Regions from separate parts of the Homo sapiens genome. Here all the other regions are linked to region 6. The links are contacts of gene promoters, found by promoter capture Hi-C in blood cells and fetal thymus (Javierre and others, 2016). All regions are on one chromosome and are shown on one strand. Each heading gives the region's core, a stretch centred on a gene start or on the middle of the fragment in contact. The rest is flanking DNA. Distances are from core to core; before and after follow the strand shown.

Region 1 (3,481 bases), core at 555-3,054, 410 kb before region 6:
ACCCAAAATACAAAAATTAGCCAAGTGTGGTGGCACGCGCCTGTAGTCCCAGCTACTCGGGAGGCTGAGGTGGGAGATTGCTTGAACCTGGGAGGCGGAGGTTGCAGTGAGCCAAGATCATGTCACTGCACTCCAGCCTGGGTGACAGAGTGAGACCCTGCCCCCAATCCAAATCTATTTGAATATATCAAAACATACGTATAGCCTGCAACTCAGCAATTCTGCTTAGAAATGTGTGTTGAAGAAACACTTGCATACATGCACACGATGTATGAGAATGTTCATAACAGCACTGCTTATAACAACAACAAACTTGGAATAGCCCAGATTTCTATTATCGGAGAAATGATAGCATAGTATATTGATGTAATGTAGTGTACAGCAGTGAAAGTTAGTGAATTACAGCTACACAAGTCAACCCAGATGAATTCCACAAACATAACACTGGACAGAAAAAAATCAAGCTGCAGAAAAATGCATATGGTATGATTCCATTTTCATTAAGTTAAAAACATGTTATAGATTATTTAGAAATACATGTGTATGTGGCAAAACTGTAAAGTCAAGCAAGGGAATGATAAACATCAAGTTTAAGAGTGTTTGCAGCTGGGCGTGGTGGCTCACACCTGTAATCCCTGCACTTTGGGAGGTGGAGGTGGGAGGATCGCATGAGCCCAGGAGTTCCAACCCAGCCTGGGCAACATGGCGAAATCCTGTCTCTACAAAAAAATAAAAAATTAGCCAAGCATGGTGGTGCACACCTGTAGTCCCAGCTACTCGGGATGCTGAGGCAGGAGGACTGCTAGAGCCTGGGAGGTTGAGGCTGCAGTGAGCCATGATCATGCTACTGCACTCCAGTTTGTGTGACAGAGGAAGACCCTGTCTCAAAGAAAAAAAAAAGAATGTTTTCTTGAGATAGGGTAGGGCACACAACTGCTTCAATGTCCTAGGAATGCTCTATTTTTTAACTTCGTAATGAGTGCATAGGCACTCTTCATTTTATTGTTATTCTTTATTCCCTGCTGTGACAGAGGCTGTTTCCAAATATGTCTTGTTCTTTTCAAGTTTTGCCTGGACATATGGCTTCCCAGAACGTAGGCTTTAGTTCCCAGCCTCGCTTGCAGCTGGAGGTGGTCATGTGACAAAGTTCTGGCCAATGGGATGTGAGTGGAAATGATGGGAACAACTTGGGAGGAATGGCCTTTAGGGCATGGGATGTGCCCTTCTCAGTCCTTTCCTCTTGGCAAGTGGACTAAGGAGCTCCAGCCGCCATCTTGGTCAATGAGACAATCTTGAGAATGGAGAGCTGCATGATGGTAGAATAAGATAAAGGGTATCTGAGCCACACTCCCATGGAGTGTTATACCAGTCTTGGATAACTTATCTCCAGAGCTGTGCAACGAGAAAGAAATAAACTATCAACTATCTTTATTTTCTTACTTTTAATTTTTTTAGAGACAGGTTCTTGCTTTGTCACCCAGATTGGAGTGCAGTGGCATGATCATAGCTCACTGTGACCTCGAACTCTTGGGCTTAAATGATCCTCCTGCCTCAGTCTCCTGAGTAGCTGGGACTACAGGTGCATGCCACCACACCCGTCCTGTCTTTTTAATTTTAGGTAAATAAACCAAAAAAACAAAAAAAAAAATGCGGGAAACTTTATAGCCAAGCCTAATCCTAATGAACATAACCTGTACAAGTTAAAATAGTCTTTAAAAAAGCTTGATTTTTAAATTTGTTTTTTTTTTTTTGATACGGAGTCTTGCTCTGTTGCCAAGGCTGGAGTGCAGTGGTGTGATCTTGGCTCACTGCAAACTCTGCCTCCCGAGTTCAAGCGATTCTTGTGCCTCAGCCTCCTGAGTAGTTGGAATTACAGACACGCACCACCAAGCTTGGCTAACTTTTGTATTTTTGGTAGAGATGGAGTTTTACTATGTTGGCCAGGCTGGTCTGGAACTCCCAACCTCAGGTGATCTGCCCGCCCTGGCCTCCCTAAGTGCTGAGATTATAGGCATGAACCACCGCTCCCGGCCTAAAATTTTTTTTAAGTGCATTTTATTGTGTATACTTTAAGGTATCCAACATGATGTTGTATGATTACATATATACAGCAAAATGGTTGCTATAGTGGAAAAACTAACACATCCATCATCTCACATAGTACCCAGTTTTTCCCTGTGTGCCAGGAGCAGCTATAATCTCATTTAGCAAAAATCCTGAATACAATACAATATTATTAACAATAGTCCCCATGTTGTACATTAGAGCTCTGGACTTGTTCACCCTGTATATTTGCTACTTTGAATCCTTTGACCTATATCTCTCCATTTCTTCCCTCTCACCCCAGATCTTGGTAACCACTGTTTTATTCTCTATCTCTACATACTTGATATTTGACTTTTTTTTTTGGTAAAGATTCCACATATGAGTGGAGTCATAAAATAGTTTTCTTCCTGTGTCTGGCTTATTTCACTTAGCGTATTGTCCTCCAGTTTCATGCATGTTGTGGCAAATGACAGATCTCTCCCTTTTTAAAGGCTGAATCAGAAATAATATTCCATTGTATGTAAACACCACAGTTTCTTTATTCATTCATCCATTGATGGACATCTAGATTGTTTCCATATTTTGGCTATTGTGAGTATTGCTGCAATGAACATGGGAGTGTAGATACCTTTTTTATTTTTTATTTTTTTTTGGGACAGGGTCTCCCTTTGTTGCCTAGGCTGGAGTGCAATGGCACACTCTTGGCTCACTGCAACCTTCGCCTCCTGGGTTCAAGCGATTCTCATGCTTCAGGCTCCCAAATTACAGGCGCCTGCCACTACGCCTGGCTAATTTTTGTATTTTTAGTAGAGAGAGGGTTTCGCCATGTGGGCCAGGCTGGTCTCGAACTCCTGACCTTGTGATCCATGCGCCTCGGCCTCCTGAAGGGCTGAGATTACAAGCGTGAGCCACTGCGCCTGGGGAGTGTAGGTATCATTACAAGGTGGTGATTTCATTTCCTTTGGGTATATACCAGAAGACATATTGCTGGGTCATATGGGAGTTCTATTTTTATTTTTTTTTGAGGAAACTCCATACTATTTTCCATAATGGTGGCATCAACCTACATTCCCACCTAACAGTGTGCGAGGATTCCCTTTTCTCCACACCCTCGCCGACACTCGTTATCTCATGTCTTTTGATAATAGCTCTCCTAACGGGTGAGAAGTGGTATCTCACAGTCATTTTGATTGGCACTTCCCTGAAGATTAGTGACGTTGGACACTTTTCCATTTACCTATTGGCCATTTTAATGTCATCTTTGGAGAAATGCCTATTAAAGTCCTCTGCTCATTTTTAAATTGTGTTATACATTTTCTTGCTATTGAGTTGTATGTGTTCTTTATAAATCTTGGATATTGAGACTTTAGTTTAAACAAGAATATATGTTTAAAAACTCAGATATTAACCCTTATCTAATATATGGTTTGCAAAT
Region 2 (3,361 bases), core at 805-3,304, 430 kb before region 6:
GTGTTATGCTCTTATCCCATCTGGGATTTGACTCATCATTAGGATGAATTAGGATCATTAGGATCAATCCGCATTAGGGGATACAGTCTACAGTCACAGACCTGCACAGACCTGCTGGGTTGCAAGGAGCTTTCTAGTCTCTTGGGCATCTCTTCCCATCTTCTCCTTCCACGCTGTGCTGGCTGGTGTAGCCAATGGCCGTGAGAAGGGATGCGTTTCAAAAAATGCCTGTGTGATGCATGTTTATAGCAGTACAATTTGCAAGTGCAAAATTGTGGAACCAACCCAAATACCTATCCATCAATGAGTGGATAAAGACTGTGGTATAAATATGATGGAATACTACTCAGCAATAAAAAGGAATGACTAATGGCATTTGCAGCAACCTGGGTGAGATCGGAGACTATTATTCTAAGTGAAGTAACTCAGGAATGGAAAACCAAACATTATATGTTCTCACTCATAAGTGGGAGCTAACCTACGAGGATGCAAAGGCATAAGAATGATAGAATGGACTCTGGGGATTCAGGGGGAAAGGGTGGGGAGAGGATGAGGTATAAAAGGCTACAAATTGGGTTCATTGTGTCCTGCTTGGATGATGGGTGCACCACAATCTCACAAATCACCACTGAAGAACTAACTCATGTAACCAAACACCACCTGTTCCCCAACAACCTCTGGAAATAAAAAATTAAAAAAAAAAACACTCCAAAATGCCTCTGTGTGTGCGTGTGTGTGTGTGTGTGTATGTGTGTGTGTGTGTGAGAGAGAGAGAGTCAGAAAGACCTCAAAGAAGAAAGAGGAGAACAAAGATGGTGGGTGAGAAATAGAAAGAGAAGTCAAACGCTATGGTTTGGAGCATGGGTTCCAGATGCAGCCCGCTTGGGGTCTCCTCCTGGACCCCCACTGGCTCTGTAGCCTCTGTGCCTTGCCTTTCCCATCTGTGTGATGGGGACACTGATCATCTCACCCTCATAGGGTGGTTGTGAAGATGAATTAAGATAATGTTTCAAGTGTCAGGCCTGGCACATCGTCAAGTGTTCAATGAACGTGTGCTATATATAATAGCACATGAAAAGCATTTTGAGAGCCCAGGGAGCTAACTTGGGGAGTACCATCTGTGCAGGATGCCGGATACATCCCTGCTTCCTGCTGTCAGTAGAGATTGGTGACCAGTCGCACAGGCTCAGGAGAAAGGCTGCCGGAGTCCATCTTCCTAGCTGTGACCTGGTCCCCCGGGGGCCTCTGCTGCCCCCTCTGCCATATGGAGATCACAAGCACACTTAGCTCACAGGGTGCTATGAGGAGTAACTGAGTACACACACTTGAAGCAATGAGAATAATGTCTGGTATGCGAGGAGCACCAGCAAATCGTGCTCATCATTCCAGCGGAGCAAATTGTTGCTGTCTCTCACCGGGCTTTGGGTTACTGAGGCTGCTATTTATTAAAGTGTGGGTTGTGACTCATTACTAGGTCATGAAATCGGTGTAGTGGTAGCAACCAGCCCTTAAAGAAATGAACCGGGGCCGGGCGCGGTGGTTCACACCTGTAATCCCAGCACTTTGGGAGGCCGAGGCGGGTGGATCACGAGGTCAAGAGATCGAGACCATCCTGGCCAACATGGTGAAACCCGGTCTCTACTAAAAATACAAAAATGAGCCAGGCGTGGTGGCGCAGGCCCGTAGTCCCACCTACTTGGGAGGCTGAGGCAGGAGACTCGCTTGAACCGGGGAGGCGGAGGTTGCAGTGAGCCGAGATCATGCCACCGCGCTCCAGTCTGGCGACAGAGTGAGACTCCGTCTTGGAAAAAAAAAAAAAAAAAAAAGAAATGAACTAGGACAGAATAGAAACTGCCGGCCAGTGTGCGTTCAGGAAGGCTGGGTGGCTTTTGGGGAACATTTTGCTCTGGTTCTGCAGATGTGAGTGAGTACAAGTGGCAGCTTAGATGTTTCCTAACCATGGGGTGGGGTCACAATAGTTTTAGCCGCACTGGTTGTGATGACTTCTGGAGGGGATGTCTCTCAGAAGCCCCCTCATGGCAATGTTTTCTAGAAGGGGCTGAGAGCCCTGGGCAGTGGACAGGTAGCAGGATAATGGACCTGGATAATGCTCCCAGGGTGCAGTCCCAGAAAGTGTGCCGGGCTGGGGCAGGTCATTTTCCCTCTTGGGCCTCCGTTTTTCCCTCATCTGTAAAATGGGAGGGTGGGGCTGGGTGATCCTAAGCTAGGATGATGGGCTGGGTGCGGTAGCTCACACCTGTCATCCCAGCACTTTGGGAGGCCAAGGCTGGCAGATCACTTGAGGTGAGGAGTTTGAGACCAACCTGGCCAACATGGTGAAACCCCGTCTCTACTAAAAAAAAATACAAAAAATTAGCTGGGTGTGATGGCGTGCACCTGTAATCCCAGCTACTGAGACAGAAGAATTGCTTGAACCCAGGAGGCGGAGGTTGCAGTGAGCCGAGATGGCACCACTGCACTCCAGCCTGGGTGACAGAGCGAGACTCAATCTCAAAAAAAAAAAAAAAGCCGGAATGATGGATCATTACACTTCTAAAACTCTAGGCGGGTGAAGCCTGGTGGACGCCCCTCATGCTGTTCCACTGGGGCTCTGGGGAGACCTAAAAAAGCACTGTTCACGGGAGGCTCAGAGAAGTTGTGTAACTTGCCAAAGGTCACAGAGTGGAGCACCCCTTGAATTCAGGCCCTTTTATTCTAAGTAACAACCTCGGGTTTTGACACCTGGTCTCCCCACACTTCCCTGGCTCATGTTCCCTGGTGGGACTGGTGGAGGTGGGGAGAGAGGGGCAATGGGAAGGAGGGACACTGTCTGAGGCCAGGAAGGGTGGCTCTGGCCCAGGTTGACACCCAATATCCTCCTCTGACCTCATTCTGGGAAGAGGGTGAACATGCCAGCTGCCCTAGGGCGGGCGGTACCTTGTTTATTCACTTAGCAAACCTCTCCTGGGTCTGATCCTGGGAAAGGCCCTGTGCTGGAGGGGGTGGATGGGTGGGAGGAGGACACTCTATTTGCAGCCACTCCTTGTGGTGTCCTCAAGCTGTTCACAGTCCGTGGGGAGAAGATTCCGTAACAGAAACCAAGATGAAACAGACCGGCAATAGAGTGGTCACCTCCCCGCACAGCAGCCTCGTCCTACATTCCCAGCCTCAGAGAAGGGCAGTAATGTTTGCCCCATCTGCCAGCCAGAACTCCTCGCCATCCACAAGACCTCTCTCTTACTTCTCCCATCCAGGCTGTCAGTAAAAGCTGCCAGCTCGACTGGGCATGATAGCTCACACCTGTAATCCCAGCACTTTGGGAAGCCGAGGTGGGTGGATCACCTGAGGTCAGGAGTTTGAG
Region 3 (3,678 bases), core at 1,075-3,574, 440 kb after region 6:
CCTGAAGGTGAGACGTGGGAAGGGACTGACACACATTCCACAGAATCGGAGGTTTCCAAGTCCTCTCAGGGGGGTTTCCAAGTCCTCTCATCAATATCCCTCCATCTAGCCCCCTCAGGCTGTCTCTGGGTCCCCCTTCCTTCTGCCCAGATCCCTGCAGTGCCCACCCCACCCTCTGCAGCAACAAATTTCTCTTCCTTCCGGAAAGCAGTGGCTGATATGCCCAACCTACCATGGCGGCCTCCACAGAAAGCCAGGCCCTCTCACTCCCCGTGAGCAGTCAGGGCTGCTAAGAACAAACATTTTTCCCCTTTGTCACATAGAGTAATAGACTCTTGAAAAATCACATTCTGGGAGGCTCATGGCTGAATCTTATAATCTGAGACTCTCCATCAAAGAACCTCAGAGCCACCGACTAATAGAATCTCGAAGTCAGTGACTGGAGAATCCTACGATGCTGCACTCTCTCCATCACTGACTGGACAACAGCTGGTGTCACAGAGCAGGGCAGGCAGGGAGGCTGAGGGATCGGGGGGGCAAGAAAAGCCTTGGGGTACAGAGGACAGGGTGGGGTGCTGGAGGGAGGCCCAGCCTGTTGTCATGCTGGAGGAAGCAGTTGGTGGGTGAGGCCTGGCTTTGTTACTGATGGTTTTTAATTATGTAAATCAGCCCAGGGCCTGCGCCTGGCACAGGCTTGGCATTCATCAGCTGGCAGCAGAATTAATCAATAAACAACCAGCTGGATGGGCCTGGGCATGAACACCCAGCCACGCCCCCACCACCCCTCCAGAGGGGTCCTCCCAGGTGGGCAGGGGAGGAGCTACACGGAAGCTGCCGCTCCCGGCTGTCAGTGCAGTTGCACACACGCACGCACATGCACCTTGCGTGCGTCGGCAGCTTGGACTCACTGTGCATATGCACAGGTGAACACACCTGCACATACAGAGAGGTGTGGCATACAAAGCACGCACTCAGACCCTCCGCCCCCGCAGCCCAGCACACATGCAGGAATACAGCCGTAAGAGGCGAGGGCCTCGTTACAGCCTCACATTTCACAGCTCACAGCCACGCCATTCCCCTCTACAACCCGCCCTGGGAGGCTGGCTGGGATGGGCTGGGCTGGGCTGAAGCCCTCGTTTTACAGATGAGGAGACTGAGATCTAGAGAAGGGACTTGCCCAGCATCCTCCCCAGGGGTCCTTCCTCCCAACCCACCTCACTCCAAGGTACAAAGGGGCTGCAGGCCCAAGAGAACTGAGGAAGGAAAGTGAGAGGCACAGGCGCTGGTGGCCCCAAAGCTTCTGAGGCAAGGTCCCCTCCCTGAAAGCAGGGCCCTTGGTGACCTGGCAGAGAACAGGGCAGGACAGGTGACCCAGTGGGGGCACAGGCGGGGGCCGGGCAGGAGCAGGCGGTGGAGCTGGGCACCAAGGCCCTCTCTGCTCTCCAGGGAGCCATGATGGATGGCTGCCTCCCAGCCAGCGTGCTCACTCCTGCTCCCAGGGCTGCCCCATAAATCAGCTCCCTCATCTCTGCCGTGGCTGTTCCTTGATCGCTTTTCAGCATCGAGGGGAGAGGGGGAAGTTCACCATCCCTAGCGGCAGGAGGGGGCTAGCAGCGAGGATCATAAAATTAATAGAAAGCTTTTCTCTTCCCCTTTTTGCCTTCTCTCAGCTTCCAGCTTTCTGCCAGCCTCTACCCCTCTCTGGCTGGGTCTCACTAAATACTGAGTGAGGAAATAGGACCTGAGGCGTGGATGAATCTCCGAGACATCTAGCACTGTGTGTCTCTGTCGCAGCCTCAGCCACGGGGTTTCCTAGCAGCCCCCAAAGACAAGGAGAGGAAGCAGGAAGGTGTCCTTCCTGGTCCGAGCAGATCTCAAGTAGCTCTGGAAGGAGGCCAGGAAAGGGCCTTGAGTGCTAGGGACCCCTTTTAGAGATCAGCCTTTTGGAGCCCCCCACCCCTTGGAGAAGCTGATGAAGGCTGTGGGTGTCTGTGAAGGCCCTGGGAACTCGACGCCACACAGCGCAGCAGTCAGTAGTTCAGCCTCTGCGGCCAGCCTCCCCAGTCCAATTTCAGGCTCTGCCCCATAGTAGCTGTTTCACCATGGGCAAGCTGCTTCCCCTCTCTGTGCCTCAGTTTCCTCATGTGCAAAGCAGGGTGAGTTACAGGACCTGCATCCTAATCAACAGATACATATTCTTTAGAAGAGTCACTGGGGATTATAGAGTTAAATGCTCTAAATATTATCAAGTGTTATCATTATTAAAGACACTGGCTCTCAGATCTTCGTGTTCATTCGCTGGAGGCTTTTCAAACCCTGATTGCTGCCCCCTGAGTTCCTGTCTCAGTAGGCCTGGAGAAGGGCCCAAGGTTGCATTTCTAACAAGTTACTGGCTGATGCTGGGACACTGGTCCAGGGGCCACACTCAGAACCCACTAGAGCCCATGTTGGTGTCGCTGATCCAGCTCAGCCCCCTCACCACTCTACATCTTAAGAACTGAGGCCCAGAAAGGTGAGCTTGTGCCCAAGGCCACACCCAGTAAGGGTGGCCTAGGCCTCAGTCTACCACGGGGAGGGGTTCTCAGCAGGAAGTCGGAGGAGGGGATCTGGAGGTGGAGGCGGCTCCATCATGGCCACCACCCGCCCTCCTTCCTCCCCGATTCCCCCCAAACCAGCTCCAAGAGCAAAGAGGCAGAATTTGCCTTCCTGGCCAGAGGTAATCTTTTAATCTCTTTGGCTTTAATCTTGCAGCCCAACATAAACCCAAATCTGTACAGGGGAAGGAAGGGGGTGGGAGATACAGATCTCCTTTCCTGGGGAGGGGGTAATCTAGGCTTTGCCTTTCACTTTGCCACAGATCTCCCATACCATTTCCACCTTCCCCACTCCTGCTTCTGGGAGCACTGGGCTGGGAGGCAGATCCAATAGGGCATGAGGAGGCAGAGAGAGCAGCCAGATGGGGTGAGGCAAGGGAGATTCACTTGTTAAAAGGAATCCACTTTGATAGGCAAAGCTTGCTTAAACAAGACATGAAAAGCATTAGACATAAAAGGAAAAAATTACAAATTGGGCTTCCTTACAATTAAAAACTTATGTTCAGCAAAATACACCATCAAGAGAAAGAAAAATCAATCCACACATGCAGAAAAGATATTTCAGTACATATATCTGAGAAAGGACTAGTAGCCAGCATAAATAAAGGACTCCTACAAATCAATAAGAAAAAAAAACAATTTTTAAGTGGGCAAAAGATATGAACAGGCACTTCACAAAAGAGAGTATCAAAATGCTCAATATATACTTGAAAAAGACACCAACCATGAGCAAGCAGCAGAGATACACAACTTGAAATTACCTCAAGCTGTCATTCACACTCGCCAGACTGGCAACATTTAAAAGAACAAAAACATCAAATGTTGGAAGGATGAGGATCAACTTTCTTATACAGTGAGTGGGAGTGTAAATGGTTCAGCCACTTTGAAAAACTGTTTGGCAGTTTCTTCCTGCTATGGTTTGAAGGTATGTGTCCCCTCCAAAATTCATAGTTGTCAATATGAGAGGACTAAGAAATGAGACCTTTAGGAGGTGAGGAAGCCATGAGGGTGGAGCCCTTCTGGATGGGAATCATGCTTTTATAGAGGAGGTTCAAGGGAACTGTTTGTCCCTTTTTGTCCCTTC
Region 4 (3,400 bases), core at 336-2,835, 390 kb after region 6:
AGTACGATGGCTCCCATGCTGGCCCTGCCCACAGGACAGTCTGGTCAGACGGGTGCAGAGGGACAGGGAAAGGAGGGGGAACGTGGACAGAGCCCCTGCTGGAAGCCTCGCCTAGACCCCAAGGTCAGCTGACTCTGCTGGCCTTGTGGGAGCCCCGCGTGACCTTCTTATGTGGGGACGTGGGGCTCTCACTTCCAAATGAGGAAACTGAGGCTCCAAGAGCAAGCAGCCGACCTGAACCCAGAGATCGGCATTGGTCTCCTGCCCACTTCTTCTTACATTGGATCCAGGAGCTTCCTAAGCACAAGGAGGGGAACGAGCTACCGGGCTGGGCATTTTACAGGCGTTCTGGGAGGCTGTGGGCACCCGGGAAAGAACACCAAGTCTGGGGTCCTCATAACCTGGACTCAGACCCTTGCTCGGTTCCCCTCAGCTGTGTGGCCTCGGCAGCCCGCGCAGCTTCTCTGAGCGGACGTCTGCACTGGTCCCTGGGGGTGCGAGGCTGCCCTGCAGGGTTGCTGTGTCAAATGAGACGGTAAGGACACAGCCAATAACAGCCGAACATCTTCCAGGCCACGCTGCGGGTGGATTATTGCATCTAATCCTCACAGTGACTCTGGGAGGCTGAGTCTAACAGGGTCCCCATTTGATAGACAATGAAGGTGCCAGGGTCAAACGCCTTACCCAGAGCCAGGCAGCTGTGGGCGGTGGAGCTAGCGCTCAGGCCTGGGTAGACCGTGCCGGGCACATGGAGGGCCTCACTAAACAACATTATTTTTTGACTCCAACCTGCCCTTTATTCCTCAAAGGCCCCTGAATATACTGGCCTCCAGCCTGGCCTCTCCCTCCTGCAAGCCTTCGTAGGGACTGTTCCAGCCACCTGCCGTGCCTCTCCTTCCACTTCCAGAAAGCAAACCTCTCACCCTTTACATTCTCATCAAATGCTACCTCTTCCACTGAGCCGCCCTGGGCTCCACCACCCCACTCCTGTCCGGCCCCTTCCCCCTACCCCAGTAAAGCCCCCCAGCACAGCAGTCTCCTAACTGACTGTCGCCTACCCTGCCTCAGCCCATCCTCTGCACAGCAGCCCAAGGAAGCCTCCCGCAGCGCACTCACATCGCCGCCCTGCTCTAAAGCCTCTGGCGCCTCCCCAGCTCCTCTGCTCCACAGTTTAGGCCCCTCATGATCTGGCTTGGCTCTGTCTCTGCAATGTGCCCTCCAATACCATCAAGACAAACTGCTCCCCGCTTCACACACGCAGGCGTGCACACACACGCATCTACACATGTCATGTGTGCACACATGTGCACACATGTACACCTCTCCAGCTGGTGCGGGATCTCCTAGGCTCCTCCCTTGCTTGGGCCTCTACTTCCACTCCTGCCTTACCCACCTTCCCACCTCCAGCCCAACCCCAGAACAGCACCTCCAAGAAACACCCCCTGTAATTCCTCAGCTCCCCTACCAGCTCCTTCCTGGAACACAGCATCCACCTGGCCTGTTCCCAAACACATACATGCTCCCTGCTGCTGGAAGACACAGCGTCCAGCCTTTTCCTGGCCCGGAGGGAGCTCAGGGGCCTCTGGTGTCCTCCCCAGACTCCTGGATCCTCCCTCCCCACTCCCAGGGATGGGCACGTGAGCTTCTTACCCCTCTCTGAACTCGGAGAGGCTTTTTGCAGCTCTTGGCCTTTCCCCTTGAGATTCCCCGGCCTGGAGTACCCTCCTGTCCCATCCCCGCCCAGTGAGTGCTACTTCTCAGGCAGGACTCAAAGCTGCCTCCTACAGGAAGCCTTCCAGCCCACCAGGCCTCAGCCACCCTGTAAGGACTGGCTGGCAAGTCTGCCCCTGTGTGGGCTTCCTGAGGGCAGGGACTCTTTTCATGCCCAGGCCCATACTGGCTCCTTGAGAACTGTCTGCTGAGGAAACATGCTCCCTCCTGTGCCACCCCTGAGTGCCTGGAGGCACAGCAAGCAAGTTGATCAGACCACGGAGACCACCGGCCCACCTCTCCCACCTCCACCGACCACGGGGACCACCAGCCCACCTCTCCCACCTCCACCGACCACGGGGACCACCGGCCCACCTCTCCCACCTCCACCGACCACGGGGACCACCAGCCCACCTCTCCCACCTCCACCGACCACGGGGACCACCAGCCCACCTCTCCCACCTCCACCGACCACGGGGACCATCAGCCCACCTCTCCCACCCCCACTGAGCCCCCTGCGTCGCACACCTGGGCCACCGGCCTCTGCCCTCACCGGCTGCTGGCTCCCATGAGATTGGAATAGTATCCAAAATCTTCCCAGACTTCACTTCTTCACCTCCCACCTCACTCACTTGCTCCAGCCACCACCTCCCCGCCATGGCCGCCTTGCTCCTCCTGGTAAATGAAAGAAGGAAGGGCTTGCAGAGCTTGACCACGTGCTTCCTCAGCACCCACTGAACCCTCAAACCAGCATCATTCGCAAAGGACAGAGGAGGAAACTGAGGCACAGAGAAGGGAAACAACTGCCCAAAGCCAGGCTGCTGCAGGGTGAGGCCTGCAACCACCCCCTCCCTGCCTCCAAAGGCCAAGCCCTCCACGTCCCCAGCCCATGCAGCAGGTCCCTAGGAAACCGGGAGGGGCAAGGGAGTGCAAGGGAGAAGAATGTAAGGAAAGGCGGGGTTATTATCCTCCCAGGTCAGGGGCCTCAACCACCCTCCACTCCACTCAGAGATGCTGACCCACCCCCTCGTGTCTACCCCCATCCCACCCCACTCCGGTCCAATCAGACTTCACCTTCTGTCCACAGGCCGACTCCCACTGTGGACAGAGAGCTGCCCCCACTGACACGGGCCTGGGGGTAGCAGCAGGGGCAGTTGTCCCCTCCCCTCACCCCCGGAGGCCCACACACCTGTGCCTGAGGAGCACCTCAGCCACCTGGAGGGCCAGGGCTGCCTGGGCAGGGCTGGGGCAAAGGCATTCTGGCATCTTAGGGCCTCCTAGCAGGTGCCTGGTGACCAAACCTGACTACCAAGAATCACAGCCTGGCAGAATTGGAAGAGCTTAAACCTCTTCGCTGTCACCCATTAGACAGATGGGAGCCTGAGGCCTGCAGGGGTGCCAGGACTCCCCAAGGCCCCCTCAGCCTCCCCACCCACCCTCGGTGGGCACGCCTGCTGGGAGCAGCCCCTGAGCCCCTGGAGGGAAGGACATGGCCTCACTCCCCGCCAGGGTCCCAGCACCCGGCCCAGAACAGGAGTTCAAGAGTTTCCTTGAACAAATAAAAGCGTGAGAGAGTCCATGCCGGACACAGGCCCTGCCTTGCCTTCTTGTAGAGGGATCTAAAGGTGGAGATCAAACGAGGGCATTAGCCTGAAAGTGCTTTCAAAACCCATAAATCACTACACACCTG
Region 5 (3,401 bases), core at 515-3,014, 510 kb after region 6:
AAATTCAAAGTCACCTGGAGCCTCTGTATTTTTTTACATAAAAAACTATACATCTGTGTATGTCAGACATATGTCTGAAAACAGTATCACGAAGAAAGAGCCATCTTAAGCATGTGGCTCTGAACTTGGAATAACGGCACTAGCACCCAGCCCCACCCTCAGCCTACCGTGGGGCCCTGGGCAAGCCCCTTCAGCCTCTCCATGCCTCAGTTTCCCTTACTGTTCAACAGGCATAGTGGGAGCGCCTCCCTAACAGGGATGGGGAAAGGAGCCTGTGCACTGGAGTCCGAGGTGCCAGCATCCACCGCAGATCCACTCACCGAGGATCATGGAGCAGCGCTGGGCGGGTTCCTGGCCCGTGAGCAGCGTGAAGTGTTCGGGGTAGTAGAACTCCAGGGCTTCCAGGAAGGCCTCATAGCCCCTCTTGCCACGGCAGCGCAAGATGTCCATCAGGCGCCCTACAGAGTAGTGGGGGGATGTACCCAGGGTCTAGGGGAAGGCCTCCCCAGGTGCCTGGTTGCTTCTGCCCCCACCATGCTCCAGGCCCACGTTCCCCAGATTTTTGAGCCAGTGACACACACAGGGGCCTGTCCCAACACATCAGGGAAGAGAAGAGAGCCATTCTGCCACAGCCAGGGGAGCACATTCCCTCATGACTCCTGGGCTCCCAGAGCTCCCCAACACCCCCCACAGACACAGATGCCGGCCCGCAAATGCAGCCTGCCTTTTCAATGGCACAGAGAAGCCCCCTCTATCCCCAGAAGCAAAGAAAATACTTCTCCCATTGGCCATGCCTGAAATTCCACCATTAAAGACCATTCCATCATGCCTTTTTGAGTTCTGGTTCAAAGGCACACCCTGTGGGAGTGGGGACCCACGTAAAGCTGAGACGGATCTTGACACTTGAAAAAGGACTCCCCCAGGAGTGTATGGTGCACAGAGGAGGGGACAGACAGAACTCGGAGATCAAAGAGCGCAGGAAAGGTGCCAAGTCCACCGGCTGTGACCGGGAGGTCCCAGGCCCAGCCGGCCCTGGCAGCCACATCCAACCTTCTGCTCTAATGTGGACCCAGGAAGTGGGAGAGAACCCCAAGAGACAAAACTCTGACCCCGGTGTGGGCAACGCGGACCGCCAAGGCGCAGTGGTGGGTGGGGAGGAGGCAGGCTGGTGGGCATACCCAGCCGGCCCACTCTACTGATGCGGAGACCGAGCCCCAGGGCAGCAGAGCCCTAGCTTCGCGCTACACGGCTGTGGGCGCTGCGCCCCAGGGCACGGCCGGCCCAGGTCGTGGCCCACTCGGGACCCGCGGCTCACCGGTGCGGTTGACGCGGCACGGGAAGCGGTAGGTGCTCAGCACCTCCTCCTCGTCCTGCTCGTCGATGACCCGGCACTGGCGCAGATACGGCGTGAGCTTGGCCGGGTTCAGGGCGCGAGCCAGCCGATGCCGGACGCCCTCGATTCGCTCCCACAGCGCGTCCTCCTCCGCCTCAGACCCCGAGCCGGCCCCGGCCTCCTCCTCGGCCTCCCCCGCCTCCGCCCGGCCCGGCATGGCCGTGTCCTCAGGGTCTGCGGGCAAGAGGCGCACGGGGGTCGACCAGGGCTCCCTAGGGCTAGATGTGCGGCCAAGCACCCCCGGGGCGTCGTCCGCAGACCCGCCGTCGGGGGCGCGCCCCGAGCTCCCCGCGACTCACCCCGCACGCTACAGTCGCCTCGGGCTCCCGGGTCCGCACTCGGGCGGCGGCTCCGCCGGCGCAGGGGGGCGGTGCCCGTGGCGCCCCCGGCTCCGCCCCCGTCCCCGCAGCCTCCTGGGCTGCCCGGGCCTCCCCACATTGCCGCCCGCCCCGGGTCGTGCGTCCGGCCCCCGGCCACCCCGCGCGTCCGTCTGCACGCCCTCCCTCCCGGCCGTCCGGCTGCGCCTCCCCCTGCTTCCTGTTTCCCGCCGGCTCTCCAGCCCGGCTCGGCGGGGTCCTGGCCGCCCGCCCACACCTGCCCGGCCTCTGGGCGGGGCGGGGGCGGGCAGGCGCGCTCACACCCCCCGCGCGCCGCGACACACCTTCCCCGGGCCACGCGCATCGCCTCCCCACGCCCACAGCGCGCCCGCCCGTGCGGGGCTAGCCGCTCACGCCCGGCGCAGCCCGCGGGCACTCAAGCTGGGCTTGCCCTTCTCGGGTCCCCACATGCACTGCGGGCGCGGGAGCTTCCCTGGAGCGCAGGACAGCCCCGCGGGGGACAGCAATGGGCAGAGGTCATGGGGGCTTTCTGCAAGATGGGGGTCTGAACCTGCAGGGCAGCACTGCCAACTCCCCTCTTACGCAAACTCCCGTGGCACTTGAGGACCAGGGACCCCACAATTCTCAAAGGGTATTCCTCCAGGTGTTGGTCCCAGAGATGCTGGGGGCGGGCTGTGACTAGCCATCCATACTCCCGCTCCTGCCTGGGAGGCCGGTGGTGTCTTACCATGATACTGGCCGAGTCTACACGGTATCTGCTGGTGCATGCGATACAGTCTCGCTATGCATTAGAAGCTGCCAGGTACCTGCTGCCAGGGAGGAACAGAGGAGGCACAACCGGTACAGGAAAGAGGTGTGAGCTCCCTAATCGCCTTCCACAACTTCTGAATTAGATGCCGTGGACATATGTATTACTTATCCAAAGAATTAAGGTTTCAATCAATAAAGGCTCTGAAAAGCCCTGCTTAAATTAAGGCCGGGGGCGGTGGCTCATGCCTGGAATCCCGACACTTTGGGAGACCGAGGCGAGTGGATCACCTGAGGTCAGGAGTTCGAGACCAGCCTGACCAATATGGCGAAACCCCATCTCTACTAAAAATATAAAAATTAGCTAGACGTGGTAGTGCGCGTCTGTAATCCCAGCTACTCGGGAGGCTGAGGCACGAGAATCGCTTGAACCCAGGAGGCGGAGGTTGCAGTGATATCGTGCCACTGCACTCCAGCAGCCCGGGCAACAGAATGAGACTCCCCCTCAAAAAAAAAAAAAAAAAAAAAAAAAGCCCCAGCAGTAAAGAAACAGATTTAACTTTATATATCCTGGTGTCCTTTTCCAAACTTAATTAACCACAGCCTTTTTTTGGTTTGCATTTGTTGTACATTTGTTTTTGTTTTGGGTGTCACCTGTTTACATGCAGAAGAAATGCTTTGGGAGAACTGAATTCTAGTGCAAATTCCTCAATTAACAAAGGAGGAAGCAGAGCTCAGAGAGGGCAAGGAACTTGCCCAAATTCACACAGCGAGGCCACAATGGGAATAGGCCGGAGCCCAGCCCCTGGCCTCTGTCCTCTCCAAGCCCCGAGTCCAGGCACACACCAGACCTCCCTTTCAATACGTCCTTCCCCTCTCTGTGGCCTTGGTTGCCCTCCCACGCAGAGCGGCAGCTCCTCCCA
Region 6 (3,599 bases), core at 197-2,696:
CATGTCTCCATTTTCCTCAATTTTGAATAGGAATGTCACTAGTTCTTATCCTATGCCTATCACATCACTGTATGTTAGGTGTGTTCAGGGCAAATTACTTAGTTTCACAGATCTATGATGGGGAAGAATTGAATCTGAGAAGCTGTACTTAAGGAACGACACTGGAGGAGCCTCAGCCACACCTGGAGCTGATTTATATGACCAGATTCTAGCTTTTAAACTGATGCTTTAATAGGATGAGAATTTTAAAGATCTTAGGAGGGGATGACTATATTTTGCATGTGGAAGGGATGTACATTATTGGGGGCCAGAGGGCAGAGAGTGGCAGGCAGTTGACATGGCTCCCAATGATCCCTGTTTCTTGGTATAATTCTCTCCCCTTTGGTGTGGACTGGACATAGTGATGAATGGAATGTGGCAAAAATGAGGGATGTTGCATCCATGATGAACTTATAAGAGACTACAACTTCTGTCTTTTTCACACACTCTCTGCAGCTCTCCTCAGCTCATCTTCTCTGACAGAAGCCAGTTTCCCTGTTGTGAGATGCCCTATGGAGAGGTCCACAGGGCAAGGAACTCAGAGTGGCCTCTTGCCAACAGCTCCAGAGTAGCTGGATCCTGCCATGTGAATGGGTTCCTTCTCTGGTCGAGCTTTGAGATGAGACTAGAGACCCAAGCAACACCTTGATTGCAGCCTGTGAGAGACCCTGGGACAGAAAAATCACCAACACTCCACCGGTATTCCCAACTCACAGAAACTGTGAGATAGTAAATGTTGTCTTAAGCCCACTAAGTTTTGGGGTGATTTGTTGTGCAGCAAGAGATAACTAACACAAGTCCATGTCAAGCATTCTCACATCTGGTAAATTAGTCTGGTCTTCACAAATACCCAGTAAGGTGTTCGGAGACACTACTAATTTATCTTCTTTCACAGATGGAGAAAATGAGGCTCCGAAAAGACACAGGACTTCACCAGGTGGGGCTAAAATTAAATTGCACATCTTCAAGCTAGGTGAAGTTCAAGTTAGCTCCAAGTTTTCTTTCTCCTCCTATCCCCAGCCACCAACCTGACGTGCCCACGGCAGCTCTGTACGTCCCAGTGCACTGCCAGTCCACAGCAGTCTGGACGGGCTACAATGGAAGTGTGGACTCACTTCCAGTTTCTGACCCAGAGAGAGAGATCCCAAGAGACTTTGGTCAAAGAGGGCGGGAAGGTAAGTCCAGTCTAGGCAGTCTTCACTCACAAGCAACTCTGAATGGGGAGAAGGAAGATGAAACCCCATGTCCTGGAAGAACCCTGGCCCTTCATAAGTCTCTGCCTCACCTCTCCAATCTCTTTCATAACAGCAGGAAACACGTGAACCACACTGATGTGTGCTGAAGCCCAGAAGTGCAGATCCCCACTGCAGAACTACTGGTGAAGACCAATGGATGGTTGCTGGGAAGTGGCCCTCCCCAAGATGTTCATTGGAGTTGCCATGGTGATCACTATACACAGGGCTCTGTTACCTCAGAGGGCTGATAGGCCCACCCGTAGGGAAAAGAGGCCAGGAGAAAGCCAGGATTGAGGCCAGGAAAAGGCAGGAGGGGCTTCAATTATTGTTCACTCTCTCATCCACTCTAGAATGTCAGTTGAGCCCCCACTACATGCCAGGTGTGCCAGGCACAGGGGGCTCAGATGCTACCAAGTGCAAAAGATGTTCTTGGGAGCTCAAAGCACTAAGTAGGGAGAAGAACTAGCTCTGTGTAGGAAAAAGGAGGAAGGACTTATGAAAGAGCCATTTGAGTTGGATCTTGAAGGATGCCTAGGAACTTAACAGTTTTGAAGGGATGAGAATATTAAAGGCATGGATGTGTATAACAGCATAAATGTAGGTCGAGGTCAATGGGGAAGGAGAAAGATGCATCTGGAGCTGTCTGATTTGGACACCCAGGGATCAGGGACCTGGGAGTAAAACTAAAGGAAGGGTCCTCTCTCCTATTCCTAAACAACAAGGGCTACAGAAGGAGATCAACAAAATTAAGTGACTTCTTTTCTGCAGAGAAGAAGGAGGCAGAAGTCATTGGTGCCAGCACTGGCCCATTCCTGTCTGGCTGTTGCTCAGCCTGGACAAAGAGTGGGTATAGTGAACGCCTCCTGCAAGCCCAGCCTTTCAGGATTTCCCCAGGAAACAGAGAGTGCTGTGGTTAAACTTGGAGTCCCCAGAATCTGGGCCTGTCACTTATTAGATAAGAGACTGGCCAAGTCCTTTAGCTGAACTTCCTTCACATGTGAAACAGATATCACCCAACACTAAGGATAAGGGTGATGGGCGAATAAAACAATTTTTTGCAAAATGTAGCACATTGCCTTGCACAGAGAGAGACATCACAAAACTCTAAGCTACTTCCGCAAGCAACCCATCAGCAAGTCCTTCGAAGTACACTAGATTTGGATGCCTTCGTCCACCTCCACAACTCCCCCTACTCCCTGGTCCAAGCCACCCTCATCTCTTGCCTAAGTATTATCTATTGCTGCACGACAATCTTGCCATAAACTTCGAAGCTTAACATACAACTGTTATCTCACAGTTTCTTTGGGTCGGGTGTCTACTCATGGCTTAGCTGAGTTCTCTGCATTGGGGTCTTAGCAGGCTACAATCCAAGTATTGGCCAGGGCTGCAGTCTCATCTGAGGTTCCACTAGGGAAGAATATGCTTCCAAGCTCATGTGGCTGTGGGAGGATTCAGTTCCTTGCAGTCTGTTAGACTGAGGGTCTCAGGCTCTCTCTGGCTGTCAGCCAGAGGCCATCCTCAGTTCCTTGCTATGTGGGCCCCCCAACACCAACATGACACTGACTTCATCAAAGCCAGCAAAGAGGGAGTCCCCTTGCAAGATGGGGCATTACAATGTTGTGTACCATAGTCACAGAAGTGGCATCCATCACCTTTGCCGTAGGCTGTTGGTTAAAAGCAAGTCACGGGTCCCACCCGCAGTGAAAGGGAGAGGGTCACACGGGGCATGAACACGAGGGGGCAGATAATATGGGGACCACCCTGGAGTCCACCATATCCTCTGACAGTCTTCTCACTCAACAGCCCAGCAATCCTGTTAAGACCTATATTAGATCATATGTCACCCCTCTAAACAAAACCTTCCAGCTCAACCACAGTAAAAGCTGACATCCTCCCATTTATCTGCAAGGCCCTACCCAACCTGTCCACCATTTTTCTCTGACCTCTGCTCCTCTCACTTTCCCAAGTGCTCCCTGGGTCCCTGCCATGCCAGGCTCTGCTGTTTTTTGGGCACACCAAGCACAGTCCCTCCTCGGGGCCTTTGCACGGGCTGTTCCCTCTCCTCTCCTGCAACTTCCTTCCCCCACATGCCTACATGGCTTGCCTCTTCACCTCCTTCAAGACTCTGCTCACCTTCCCAGACCACCTTTTCTTAAAAAGCATCCCAGCCCACCCCACACTCCCTACTCCTATTTTCCAACCTTTTCTACCATTGCACCTTATTGCCATCTGACATACTGTGTATATTTGCTTCTTCTTCCCACAGTAGGATCTGAGCCACATGTGAGCTGGGAAGAGGACTGTTTTGTTAGTGGCATGGAAGTG
Region 7 (3,480 bases), core at 127-2,626, 470 kb before region 6:
TACAGTGAACCCAAAAATTACATTAAAAGTCTGTATTATCCAGGATCGAGCTGTTTTACCATGGGAAAGCCCATCAGAGTACCCAACCCTCCATATGGCCAGAAAGAACAACTCTGTCTGAATACACGAGTTTCAGGGGCTGCTTGTGCCTTCACTCATTAGGGTTAAAACATGGTCTTAAAGCTGAAGGCCGCCTCTGACCTGACAGCTCCAAGTCCTGCGGACTCCTGCGCCCAGTAATCACCTCCATGGCGAAGCACTGTTCCTGCTCCCGCAGGCGGCTATAGGTCCACAGCAGGCTCTGAAAGTGCTCCCACAGCTGGACACGCTGCCCCAGGTCTGGGGGCCGCAGCCTGAGGGCAGAGCCAGAGAGGGCGGGAGAGACCACGAGAAAGCTGGTCTCTCCCACACCCAACAAAAGGACCAGAGTCCCAGCTCAGTGTTAGAGCCAGGTGAGCCCATGTGACCTGCCCACACAGCTGGGAAAGCGGGTCGGGTTTCTGGCCCAGCTCTAGCTGTGGAGTGGGGTGGGATAGGCACGGAGCCAGAAGGCAGGCAGCTGAGCAAATCACCTCACTCTTCAATCTCTGTCACACAAACACATGTCATATAAACCCAGCTAGAGAGAGCCAGGGTGGTGCTTAAGCTTCTCACACAGAGGCCACTGAACACAGAAAGGTCTGGTCTATCATCAGGGCCCTACACAGGGTTGCAGCCATCTCGGATGCTGGCAAGGTCTGCACTGGCCAATGTGGTTCATGTAACAGGCATCTACCACCTGCAGCATTTGCCACTGAAACCATGACCTATCTGGGCTAAAATGGCTCATGAAACAATGTTTGTGCATTTGAGAAATGCCTCGAGCATGTACAGCTTCCGCTGCAGGTCCCCCTCGCTCTTGGTGTGGTCGCCATTGATGGCAATGAACAGGCATTCTCCAAACAGGTGAAGGACATACAGGGAGTTGCTGTTTTCCATGGAGAAGCAGGTGTAGGTGTCCGAGAGCTTCTCCAGCATCGTCATGGAGGAGATGATGACCGGGGCTAGGAGGGGGCTGAGCTGGTCCTGTAGGGCAGGGAGCTCTTCTTCCTCATTCTCTGACTGCCCGAACTTCAGCTGGAGACTCTCTTCAAACTCCTCATCCGTCCAGTAGAAGAGGGCCTCTGTGCCCTCAATGGCCACCAAGATGCACTTCATCTTGGTAAGGAGCACAGTGGAGCGTCCAGACAGCCAGAGGTTCAGAAAGGGCTGCAGCAGACAGACTCTGTGACTGCCTCATCGGAGAGCAGCACAACATCCCTGGTCCTGCAAATGCGGATCGCGGCGTGCACAGCACCCCGCCTGCGGGACAGAAATGTTTTCTGAACTGAAAAAGGGGGACTACAGGTGCCTGCCAGGCCCTCCATATACATACATCCCCCTATGTCTGTGTCTAGAAGTGAGATACACCGTTATTTCTGTTTTCTGATTGGCCTTTTTAGTTTTTTGAGACAGAGTCTCCCTCTCTTACCCAGGCTGGAGTGCAGTGGCTCGATCTTGGCTCACTGCAACCTCTGCCTCCGGGGTTCAGGCAATTCTCCTGCCTCAGGCTCCGGAGTAGCTGGAATTACAGGCCTGCACCACCACGCCTGGCTAATTTTTGTATTTTTGGTAGAGACGGGGTTTGGCCATGTTGGCTAGGCTGTTCTCGAACTCCTAAACTCATGTTATCCACCCCCCCTCGGCCTCCCAAAGTGCTGGGATTACAGGTGTGAGCCACCGCAACTGGCCCATTGGCCTTTCTTGTTGTACTGTTCTGTCCCTTCCAGGTAAGACAGGTACATTTTCTAGTAGTAAGCTCCTGTGTCTTAAAAAAGAAAATAACATTCATTGAGTGCTTACTTTATGCCAGGCACTGTGCTATGGGCTTTATATAAATAATTTCCTCTCTGAAAAAAACAAAGACAACAAAAAAAATTACTTCTTTGATTCTTTTCTAAAAGTTCCTTGAAATTGCCATGGACCCTCCCATTCGTGCAGGTGGGGAGAAAGAAGCTCAGAGTCGTTGAGTACTTGGCCCAGTGAGTAAATGGTGGAGCCAGGATTTGTGAACAGTTTTGTGGACTCAGAAGCTTCCATCCCTTACAGGGGTGGTGAAGAAGGCCTTTCCGAGAGGCCCGAGAGGCCCCAAGGCAGAACCATCCAGCCAAGCCCACCCCAAATTCCTGTCCCACAGAAACCAAGAGAGATAATAAAAAGACGGTTGCAGGGTTGTCTCGCCCCTCCTCTGTCTCTTGCCTGCTCTCTCTAAGGAATTCAGAGCCTTCCCATCTTGAATACCAGCGGCAGCTCCAGAATTTCCCCGTGGGACAGGCTTACTGAGAGCCGTCTTGTGAAGGGGGTAGCCCTGGACTTGCCTGGGAGCTGTGTCTGTGTAGCAGGTACTCTGCTTTCAGGAGGATGCAGGTTTTGTTGGGGGAGAGTGTTCCAGGGACTGTGAGGGGACTGAGCCTGCTCCTGAAGCCATCTCCTTTTTATTTAATTTTATTTTTTTGAGACAGAGTCTCGCTGTGTTGCCTAGGCTGGAGTGCAGTGGCAAGATCTTGGCTCACTGCAACCTCCATCTCCCGGTTCAAATGATTCTCCTGCCTCAGCCTCCCGAGTAGCTGGGATTACAGGTGCCCGCCACCATGCCTGGCAAATTGTTGTATTTTTAGTAGAGATGAGGTTTCACCATGTTGGTCAGGCTGGTCTTGAACTCCTGACCTCAGGTGATCCACCTGACTTGGCCTTCGAAAGTGCTGGGATTACAGGCATGAGCCACTGCGCCCGAAGCCATCTCTTGGTAAAATACTGCTGAGCATTCAGACAGAACAGAATTAGGAGAAAGAGAAGGAACCAGCATTGATTTCTTCAACACACTGTGCTAGGTACCTCAGGCATTTCGATTATTCTAGGCTGTGAGTGAAGAGTTGTTGCCAGAATCTAAAGTGTGTTCTGAGAACTTGGCCAAATGTAGGGTGACCATATGACTTACCATTCAAATTTGGGACACTTTGGGGGTGACGAAGGGATTACTATCAATAATTATGCCCTGGGATTGTCTCACTTAAACTGGGAGGTATGGTCACCCTAGGCAGAAGGGAAGTAAAATGGTCCTCTGTTACTGATTATCTGTTGCTGTGTAACCAATCACACCAAAATTTAGTGGTTTAAAACAACAACAGTCTTTTTATTATATCTCTTAGTTTCTGTGGGTCAGGAATTGGGAGAGGGCTTGGCTGGGTGGTTCTGACCTGGGGTCTCTCATGCATTATAGTTTGGTGTGGGTGGAGCTTCTGTTTTTCTCTCTCTCCATTTAGCCTCAGGGTCATTCTGTAGTGAGTCCATGTGGGGAGTTCAGAGCAAGTATTCTGGCGAACAAGCTGGAAGCCATGCTGCCTTCTGTGATCTAGCCTCCGAAGTTATACAGCATCTCTCCCATCCCCGTAACTTGTTGGT

Evidence for each region. Contacts are between HindIII fragments. The CHiCAGO score rates a contact against its expected background, and 5 or more counts as called.
Region 1: a contact is called between a fragment that was not itself captured here and the fragment with the promoter of CIMIP4 in region 6, in 4 of 17 cell types (M0 macrophages, M1 macrophages, endothelial precursors and 1 more). The highest score is 6.5, in M0 macrophages.
Region 2: a contact is called between a fragment that was not itself captured here and the fragment with the promoter of CIMIP4 in region 6, in 1 of 17 cell types (M0 macrophages). The highest score is 6.2, in M0 macrophages.
Region 3: a fragment that was not itself captured here is called in contact with the fragment with the promoter of CIMIP4 in region 6 in 1 of 17 cell types (M1 macrophages); the score reaches 5.4 in M1 macrophages.
Region 4: a fragment that was not itself captured here is called in contact with the fragment with the promoter of CIMIP4 in region 6 in 1 of 17 cell types (naive CD8 T cells); the score reaches 5.4 in naive CD8 T cells.
Region 5: a contact is called between the fragment with the promoter of CARD10 here and the fragment with the promoter of CIMIP4 in region 6, in 2 of 17 cell types (fetal thymus and activated CD4 T cells). The highest score is 6.3, in fetal thymus.
Region 7: a contact is called between a fragment that was not itself captured here and the fragment with the promoter of CIMIP4 in region 6, in 2 of 17 cell types (endothelial precursors and M0 macrophages). The highest score is 7.5, in endothelial precursors.

The regions. Positions count from the first base shown.
Region 1 is chr22:36,598,814-36,602,294 of GRCh38, forward strand. All of the region lies in intron 1 of CACNG2 (calcium voltage-gated channel auxiliary subunit gamma 2), which reads right to left. Among named protein-coding and RNA genes, the nearest start is that of EIF3D, 71 kb to the left of the region's middle. The HindIII fragment of the contact is 170 bases long and covers 1,720-1,889 here.
Region 2 is chr22:36,575,845-36,579,205 of GRCh38, forward strand. The region is part of intron 2 of CACNG2 (calcium voltage-gated channel auxiliary subunit gamma 2); the gene reads right to left. Among named protein-coding and RNA genes, the nearest start is that of EIF3D, 48 kb to the left of the region's middle. The HindIII fragment of the contact is 7,086 bases long and covers 1-3,361 here.
Region 3 is chr22:37,448,053-37,451,730 of GRCh38, forward strand. No RefSeq gene overlaps it. Among named protein-coding and RNA genes, the nearest start is that of ELFN2, 22 kb to the left of the region's middle. The HindIII fragment of the contact is 1,374 bases long and covers 1,638-3,011 here.
Region 4 is chr22:37,397,480-37,400,879 of GRCh38, forward strand. All of the region lies in intron 2 of ELFN2 (extracellular leucine rich repeat and fibronectin type III domain containing 2), which reads right to left. Among named protein-coding and RNA genes, the nearest start is that of ELFN2, 28 kb to the right of the region's middle. The HindIII fragment of the contact is 5,659 bases long and covers 1-3,400 here.
Region 5 is chr22:37,517,651-37,521,051 of GRCh38, forward strand. It overlaps CARD10 (caspase recruitment domain family member 10), which reads right to left and starts at 1,765. Exons shown (of 20, transcript NM_014550.4): 1 at 1,316-1,765; 2 at 321-458. The coding sequence starts at 1,550. The HindIII fragment of the contact is 26,549 bases long and covers 1-3,401 here.
Region 6 is chr22:37,006,405-37,010,003 of GRCh38, forward strand. CIMIP4 (ciliary microtubule inner protein 4) reads right to left here and starts at 1,447. Exons shown (of 6, transcript NM_001163857.2): 1 at 1,325-1,447. The HindIII fragment of the contact is 2,868 bases long and covers 1-2,543 here.
Region 7 is chr22:36,536,408-36,539,887 of GRCh38, forward strand. It overlaps the pseudogene LOC100500719. Among named protein-coding and RNA genes, the nearest start is that of EIF3D, 9.0 kb to the left of the region's middle. The HindIII fragment of the contact is 1,465 bases long and covers 645-2,109 here.